Linked DNA regions of Homo sapiens: regions 1 and 3 are each linked to region 2. The links are contacts of gene promoters, found by promoter capture Hi-C in blood cells and fetal thymus (Javierre and others, 2016). All regions are on one chromosome and are shown on one strand. Each heading gives the region's core, a stretch centred on a gene start or on the middle of the fragment in contact. The rest is flanking DNA. Distances are from core to core; before and after follow the strand shown.

Region 1 (2,923 bases), core at 1-2,500, 190 kb before region 2:
ATAGAAGAAAAGTTCAAATTGGGCCTTTTTCACAAGTTTCTATCTAAAAATTCATCTCAGGAGATACAAAGTAAAACCACATTTCACAGCAATAACAAAAAGGGGTGGTAGAATAATGTAGTTTTTACCCCAATGACTCTCATCACGCCTTCAACAGCTGCAAAGATTAAGTATAGAAGCCCCAGTCCGATCACCCGGTGCATGACTGTTCCTAAACGAGGCCTGGAATCAGGAAGAGGAAACAGAGAAAGAAGAAAAAGCATGGGTGAGTAAAATGCACCTGAATACAGTAACTGGCACCATTTCCAATACCAGGAAGTCACTATCTAATCACATCAGTCTGTTCCCGGCTCTGAGGTACTTTGTTTTAGGAAACAGGCCCAGGAACAAAGGGTCTCTTTCTCTAGGACCTGAAGCTATACTGATGCCTTTGAAGCAATATTTGGAGGCCACAAAGGTGCCAGAGGATTTTGCTGCTGAAATTCAAGCAACAGAATGAATATAATTCAGGTACTGTTTCTATAGAATGGAAGAGTAGGTTGATGAAATCTAGGAAGGTAAATGCCAACTTCTAAGTGCCACTGAGAAGTCTAACTTAATTCTTCCTGAGGTCTGTCTTTTCAGAGATAATTCACTTGTCTCATGACTTGGGCAGAGGAAGAGCAGGACATGAGGAGATGGAAGTCCATGACCTCCTTTCTGATCACCAGCTCTTAACCAGAACAGGAGTGCTAACAGAATTTCATTTTCATTCTTTAAACTGAAAGAGTTAAAATAACATTTTTGGGCGAGGCGCAGTGGCTCATGCCTGTAATCCTAGCATCTTGGGAGGCCAAGGTACGCACATTACTTGAGCTCAGGAGTTCGAGACCAAACTGGCCAACGTGGTGAAACCCGGTCTCTACCAAAAAAAGCAAACAATTAGCCGGGGGTGGTGGCTCGTGCCTGTAGTGCCAGCTACTTGGGAGGTTGAGGCACGAGAATCGCTTGAACTTAGGAGGCAGAGGTTGCAGTGAGCCAAGATCGCACCACTGCACTCTAGCCTGAGCGAGAGTGAGACTTTTGTCTCCAAAAAAACAAAAACAACAAAAAAAATTTTTTTTGGCTCTTTCAAAATATAATTGAGTTGGGAAAATACAAAGATGGTGGTTTTTGCAATTAATAATTTAAAATAGAATAATTTCATGATATTTGCAAATCAGAATTTATTGCACATACATTTAAGGCTGCTCAAAAACCCTCCTCTCAGAGTAATTAGAAGAAAAAAACTGGTTTAAAAAAATATTTAAGATAGTCAATTCAAAACAAAATATAAGTAAAAAATTAAGTTAGTGGTCATAGCTCATATTTAATTAAGACTATTTACCTAATCTAAGGAATCTAAATTCTGATTCATTATAATCAACTAACCAGAACCTCCAAATAACCAGAACTGTTACTGCTCTCACTTTATGAGTTGAGCCGAGCAAGCTAACAGTGAAGGGATTCATTTAAAAAGGGTTTGTATCTGTACCCATTCATTTAATCTTCTATTCCTTTCACAGTAACAACACTGCACCTGTTGGTATCTGATGTTCATAACCAGAGCTGTGAAAGGTACTGCAAGATTCCTCAACAAGAGGCCTTCATTTCCTACACTGTACTAAGAACACAAAAGGCATTTGAGAAAGAATCTCCAATAAAAGTCCAGGGGGATAAAGGCTTCCAGGATAAAATCCTGCTAACTCCCCAATCCCCAGCTCACAAGCAAACGGGCACGCACACAGGAGGAGAGCCTAGGGGTGCGAGTCACAGAGCAGAGGCCTGAGCCTGGGCCCCCGGGGGCCGGAGCTCAGGAACACAGGAGGGTGCAGCAGAGGAGGCTGGGGAGGAGTAGCCAGTGATGTGAGAGGATGGAAGACGAGCTCCCAGAAACCAGGCAAAGCTGGCACTCCTTAAAGCTGCTCACGGGACAACTGGACGAGGGCTGAGCAGGGCCATGTGATATGGCAGGTGAGGTCATGGTGGCCTTGACAAGAGCAGTCTCAATAGAGCAATACTGGGGAGGCTGAGGTACAGACTACTCATGTGAGAAGTTATGCTGCACAGGGGAAAGGTGAATGAGGCAGAAGTGGAGGAGAGGGCCATGTGGGGTGGAGGGAGGGCTTCACTTTAAAAAATGGTAGAAATAACGAGATGCTGATGGGGGTGACCCACCAGAGAGGAAAGCTGACGATGCAAGAAAAAACAAAACCGAGCACTAGGACAGTTTCCCTCACAGTTGAGTGGGCACAAAGGCAGGGGTGGCCCGTGACTATCAAGAAGAGGAAAGTGGTTCATGCGGTCCAGATGTGGGGGAAATGACAGGGTCTGGGGGCACAGATGCAGTGGAATTCCCCTCTGATGGCTTCTACTTCCTCAGTGAAAAAAAAACCGAAGGTCAGGGTAGAGTCTGAGAGAAAGGGGTAAAATGGTCTTCTGCAGACAGGAGAGTGAGAAAATAGTGGCAAGGGGATTGAGTACAACTGCCAGCAGCACTGAGGGTGCACGTGAAGTTTAGGGTCATGAATGGCAAGTAGGCCCCCTCAGTGTGGTCCAGGGCTCTTTTTGGGCAAATTCCCCTGCTCGGGTGGGAGCCTGAGGCAGAAGGAAAGCTGGACTTAGCAAGGCTGGGGTTTTGTCAAGAAGGTTGACAAAGAGAAAGGCAGGGGTCTTTGGGTGTCAATGTCCTGCTGGACCAGGGAATCCAAGCAAAAGGAAGAAGGTAAGGATATAAGATGGGGAGGGACAACGGAAGGTGCCAGGGTCAAAAGGCTGGAGGCCAAAGTATAGTCGAAAAAGACTGACACCGACATGTTAAAGAAAGTAACAGGAAACAGAGGAGGTTGACAGTTGAAAAGTGGATTGCTTAAAATTGAGATTTTGAAGAGGGTGCAGTTATATA
Region 2 (2,700 bases), core at 201-2,700:
ATAGAAACCTTTTAGCTGAGAGAAAATACTTGGAATGTGTTTATTTAGCATTTTTCCCCTTTCTTTTTCTTTTGGGTAAAGCCTGGTAAGTTTATTCCAGCCTCCTCAAGAAGTGCATCAGCGATCAAACTTGAAATCTGTTCATCACTCACTCCCCAAATAAGCTGTTCAAGCAGAATGAAACCGGCCTTCCTTGCCTCCACGTATCAGTCCAGCATCTTGTATTAAAATGCCTGGAACAAGCCGGGCGCGGTGGCTCACGACTGTAATCCCAGAACTTTGGGAGGCCAAGGAGAGCAGATCACGAGGTCAAGAGATCGAGACCATCCTGGCCAACATGGTGAAACCCCGTCTCTACTAAAAATACAAAAATTAGCCGGACGTGGTAGCGCGCGTCTATAGTCTCAGCTACTCGGGAGGCTGAGGCAGGAGAATCGCTTGAACCCGGGAGGCGGAGCCTGCAGTGAGCCGAGATCGCGCCGCGGCACTCCAGCCTGGGCGACAGGGCGAGACTCGGTCTCAAATTAAAAAAAAAAAAGCCTGTAACAACACTTCGCTGAATCCAGATAAACGTAAACGCTGCCGAGCACTGTAAGTTCTGTTCTGCCATAACAGGAGTGAAAAGAACGCTCCCCTTTTCCCACACTCTCTGGGTGCCCCTAAAAAGGGATACTAATAATGCCCGTAAGGGCCCATTGGGAGCAGCCAGGACTGCCGTCCCCCCCTGGCCCGTCGCTCGGCCTCAGTCTATCGCGGCTCCCGGACTGCGGCTCCGACTCCCGCAGCCCGTTCGTTCGCCCCGCGCCGGTCCCTCGGGAGACCGGATCTGTGGCCCCCGGGACTCCGGCCAGAGCGGGGCCCCACCATGCAACTCTAGTGGAAAGTTCTCGTCGCATCCCAGACCAGACCTGCTACCTACGTTCCACTCGTCGGAACTTCAGGACTTGCAGCGCGCCCGGCCGAGCTCGATTTCCTCCTCTGCGGTGAAGAGGGGAGCCTGCAACGCCGACCCCGACCCGGCTTCACCACGATGCGCACCCGCAAGCCAGGCTGGGTGCCCTCGGGACGCTTGAGGCGCCGCGGTCAGTGGACGGTAGGTTCGCCTACGCCCCCTCCTCTGGCACCGCAGTGGGTGGAGGGTGTTTGCAAACTTGTCCAGCAGCCAGGCGCGCCCCTGTGGACGCGCTCCCTCCCCAGAGGCCCCTGCTTCCTCCTGGGAGCCCCCACCCCCTCGCCTGGCCCCCAGCCGGGCGCACTCACCTCTACGCCAGAGCGCGGGGAGGAAGAGGCCCAGCAGCAGCGGCAGCGGGGCCGGCCCCATCCCGGGGCTGCGGATCTGTAATTTCTCTCCGGACGGATGGACAGATGGACGTCCCGAACCTGTCCTGTCGCCGGCCAAGCGCGCCAGCGAAGCTCCCTGTCCGGGCGGCCCGGGCAGTGAGTGCCGAGTGGCGGAGCCAAGCGGCCGGCGGGAGGTGCCGAGGGCTGGAAGGGGCGGGCCGGGGGCCGAGCCGAGGCCGGCCGGGGCTGGAGGAGAGGAGCGGGCAGGGGGGCGAGTCCCGGCGGGCCCAGCAGGTTGGGGTGGGAGGGGGCGGGAGGACGAGGGGGAGGAGGGGCGTAAAGGGGAAAGGGAGGGGGTTGGAGAGAAGGGGCGGGCCGAAGGCCGCCGCTGGGCAGACGGCGGGGAAGGGGGCGGAGAGGAAGGGGAGGGGGCTGAGAGACCCGGAGGGAGCCGGAAAGAGAAGTGAAGGGGAGGGGTGGACTGGAGGTCCACAGCGGAAGGCTCTGGCCGCTGCGCGGGTCCGGGGCCCCACACGTGTGGGTGGGAGATGGGGAAGGACAGAAGGTGGGAGAGGAGTAGAGGATGCCCGAGGCAGCCCCCAGACCCAAGAGGAGGGTCCAGAGGCGCCCCCGCATTCCGGGCTTGGCTGACACAGAAAACCCTGGCCGCGCCGCTCCCAGAGGCCAAGGCCAGGGCGGCAGCGCTCCCTGCCGAGCGCTCCTCCACATCCATTCCGCTCGCCGCCGAGCGCCGCCTGGGTACCCGGCCCGAGGTGCGCGACACGGCCCTGGCGGCGAGGAGCTCACCTCCCCAGGGGGAGGGGTTCCTGGGAAAGGACGCTTTGCCGTGGCTCCGTGACGAGCCAGAGAGAGGTGACACTCAAGGAGGGAGATGAACGTGAATGACAAAGTGCAGAGCAGGAGTGGGGAGAGGGGGAACCACAGCACGTCACTCTCATGGGCCTCCACAAGGTGTGCAGGGTCCAAGAGGCAGTAGCAGAGAGTGAGTCGTAAGAGAAATGTAACTACTTACGCTAATAATGGCAACAGTAACTTAATTTATATACGTAGTTTCTTAAAGGTAACACTTTTAGAATGAATGTATTTTAATGTGGTCCCTTTAACAACATAACATAAGCCAAATCATGTCCCTCTCCTCAAATCTCCCTAAACCTATCAGTGGTTCCTGCTGTCTCTGCGTACGTAAGCCAAGGTTCTGCAGTGGTCTACGAGGTTCTACGTGACCTGGTCCCCTTTCCTCTTTGGCCTCATCTCCTTACGCCTCTTCAATTTACGTTGGTCTCGTCAAGCGGTCCCTTGACCCCTACACTGGCTGGACACTTCCCGTAGATTTGGCTACGGGAAGGAGACAGGCAGCCCAGATGGGTTTAGACAGGTTATTACTTACACCGACAGCAA
Region 3 (2,802 bases), core at 86-2,585, 210 kb before region 2:
TACAATTTTATTCAAGCTTCCCACCTCAAAAAAAAAAAAAATCTGTTAATTTTGGTAACCGTGTAGGTAACACATAAAGTTCTTTACCAACAGATAACAAATGTTATTTTAAAATGGCTTCAAAAATCACTTTCATAGGCTGAAAAGTTAACACAAGCTTTTATTGGAACAAAGCTTTCCCATCTCGAATGTGCAGATGAACAGGCTATGGAATCTTTTCAAAAAGCAGATTCCAATTCAGGAGCGTCCGGGGTAGGCCTGAGACTCTGCATCTCTAACAAGTTCCCAGATGATGCTCATGCTGCTGGCCTAGGAACAGCAGGTGAGAAGTGAGATCTACAATGAAGGTATTTCAGTTATGGACAACCAGGATTGCTACTTGGCACTTGGCAACACTAATTTTTATAACAACAACAACAAAATCTTAGTAAAAACTGTTCTTCTGAGAGTCAATGAATATGACACTCGTATAGCTCTCTAAAGTAGTGAAGACTAAGGAAGACTAAGATTGTACTAAATATATACCATACTCACAAAGTTCTCAGAAGTGGCAGGCTTAGCTGTTCCATTGGAAACTGATTTTGAGGCTCTTAATTTTATTCCTTCGGCTACGAGAGACATTATAAACATATATATAAAATCACAAAATAATATTTTCCTTTAGAAATTTAATAATCTGATAAGAAAAAATACTATATCTTTTTAGAAATGGAGGGTTAATAATGGAAACTTTAGGCAGGATGCTGGATTTACCATTTGGGAATGTAGGAAAAATATATGAAAAAAGTTCACAGATTTTTGGAAACTATTTGTCAGAACCACCAGGTTTTCAAGTTTCTTGTTTGAATCCTAGTTTTAGAGTTTAAACAAGTATACATGCATACATATTTCCTTAATTGCAATTATTTTAAAGTTTATGGATTTAAAAATCTTCAGGATTCATGGTACATTCAAGAACAAAACACATCTTTGGGTATGCTTTACATCCCTGATGTACAAATTTTGAAATGTGCGTATGGCATAAAGAAGATAGGAAAGATCAAGATTTCTTTCATATTTGACCAAGGCTCTTCTGCATGTTTGCAGTTTCAGTGGAGCAAAGGCTAAGTGTCTGCCTCACTGGAATCTTGGGCAAGGCAATTAACTTCCTGTGACTTAGTGTTTCTGACTATAAACTGGGGATAATAATAATTTCTACCTCATAGAGTTCTAGTGACCATTGAACAAGTTAGCACATATAAAATGCCTGACACACAATCTATGCCCAGTAAGTAGTCACTTTTGTTATTACACTAATTTGCAAATATTGCTTCTCCATAAACTAGAACAATTATAACATAAGCTGATGTAATAAATAAAAATGAGGTTCCTCAATCCAAAAATGTTTTCCTGGGACATTCAAAACCCCAACATTTCTCTTAGAAGGGGAATACAGTGATTTTTGAACACTGAAGCGTGTGTGTGTGTATATATATATATATTACAAATTTTAAGTGTACAGTCTGAAGAAACCTGACAAATATATACACTTGAGTAACTGCCATGCCAATCAATACAGTTAACATTTCCATTATCACAGAAGGTTCTTTAAGTTCCTTTCTGGTCAATCCCCACCTCACCAAAAGCAACCACTGCTCTGATTTAGATAATCATCTAAATCATGCAACACTTTCATGCAAGATAAACATTTTTGAGATTAAGTTATGTTATAGAGTGTTGGTTACTTTTTATTACTGAAAAGTATTCCATTGTATGGATATATGGCAATTTATTTATCTTTTCACCTGTTTGTAGATAATTGTGTTACTTCCAGTTTTGGACTATTAAGAATAAAGCTGCTGTAAACATTCTTGTGTTTCTGTAGACATCTGCTTCATTTTTCTGGGTAAACCTTAGAGTGGAACAGTTGAACTGTATGGTAGGTATATGCTTAACTTTGTAAGAAGCTGTCACATTGCTTTCTAAAGCGGTCATGCTATTCTACATTCCTTCAAGTACTGTATGAGAGAGCCAGCTGTTCCACATCCTCTCCAATAGTTCATGCTATCTATCAGACTTTTTAATTTTAACCATTCTAGCAGATGTGTGGTGGCAGCTCATTATGGTCTTAATTTGCATTTCCCTGATGACTGATTATATTGAGCACCTTTTAACGGGTTTATTGGCCATTCCTATGTCTTCTTTGAAGTGTCTACACTAGTCTTCTGCTCATTTTTTGCAACATAGGTTATCATTTATTGATTTACAGGAATTCTACTTATATTCTGGATATAAGCCCTTTGTCAGATATATATGTACTGAGAATATTTTATCTCCCACTGTAGCTAGCCTTCTTATTTTCTTAAATTCTTCCTGATGAGCATAGATTTTAAATTTTGATAAAGTCTCATTTTTTAATTTAATGGTTACTGTTTTTCATGTCCTAAGAAATTACCCCATCCAACGTCATTAAAATATTTTCCTTTTTTCTTCTAGAAGAATAACAGTTGAAGCTTTTCCATTAGGTCTGTGATCCATCTTGAATTGATTGTGAGATGTGCAACAAAAGTCTAATGATTTTTTTTCCTACACATTTATCCAGTTGTTCCAGTACCATTTATTAAAAAGACTATCCTCTCTTCATGTAAGCCTTGGTGCCTTTGTCAAAAATCAACTGACCACACATGCATGGGTTTATTCCTGGACTCTATTTTACTACCTTGATGGATTTCTCTATCCTTATGCCAATACCACACTGTCTGGATTGCTGTAATCTGAAATAATTATGTCTTGAAATCAGTATAAATCCACTAATTTTATTTT

Evidence for each region. The method cuts DNA at HindIII sites, captures the fragments that hold promoters and counts their contacts. A CHiCAGO score of 5 or more calls a contact.
Region 1: a fragment that was not itself captured here is called in contact with the fragment with the promoter of MERTK in region 2 in 1 of 17 cell types (M2 macrophages); the score reaches 5.2 in M2 macrophages.
Region 3: a contact is called between a fragment that was not itself captured here and the fragment with the promoter of MERTK in region 2, in 2 of 17 cell types (endothelial precursors and megakaryocytes). The highest score is 7.5, in endothelial precursors.

Annotation. Positions count from the first base shown.
Region 1 is chr2:112,086,924-112,089,846 of GRCh38, reverse strand. It overlaps TMEM87B (transmembrane protein 87B), which reads right to left. Exons shown (of 19, transcript NM_032824.3): 10 at 129-222. Among named protein-coding and RNA genes, the nearest start is that of TMEM87B, 33 kb to the right of the region's middle. RefSeq lists an enhancer at 2,387-2,476. The HindIII fragment of the contact is 4,356 bases long and covers 1-2,923 here.
Region 2 is chr2:111,897,357-111,900,056 of GRCh38, reverse strand. MERTK (MER proto-oncogene, tyrosine kinase) reads right to left here and starts at 1,450. Exons shown (of 19, transcript NM_006343.3): 1 at 1,261-1,450. The coding sequence starts at 1,321. RefSeq lists an enhancer at 1,982-2,311. The HindIII fragment of the contact is 4,607 bases long and covers 1-2,700 here.
Region 3 is chr2:112,103,808-112,106,609 of GRCh38, reverse strand. TMEM87B (transmembrane protein 87B) reads right to left here. Exons shown (of 19, transcript NM_032824.3): 16 at 535-608. Among named protein-coding and RNA genes, the nearest start is that of FBLN7, 33 kb to the left of the region's middle. The HindIII fragment of the contact is 2,318 bases long and covers 177-2,494 here.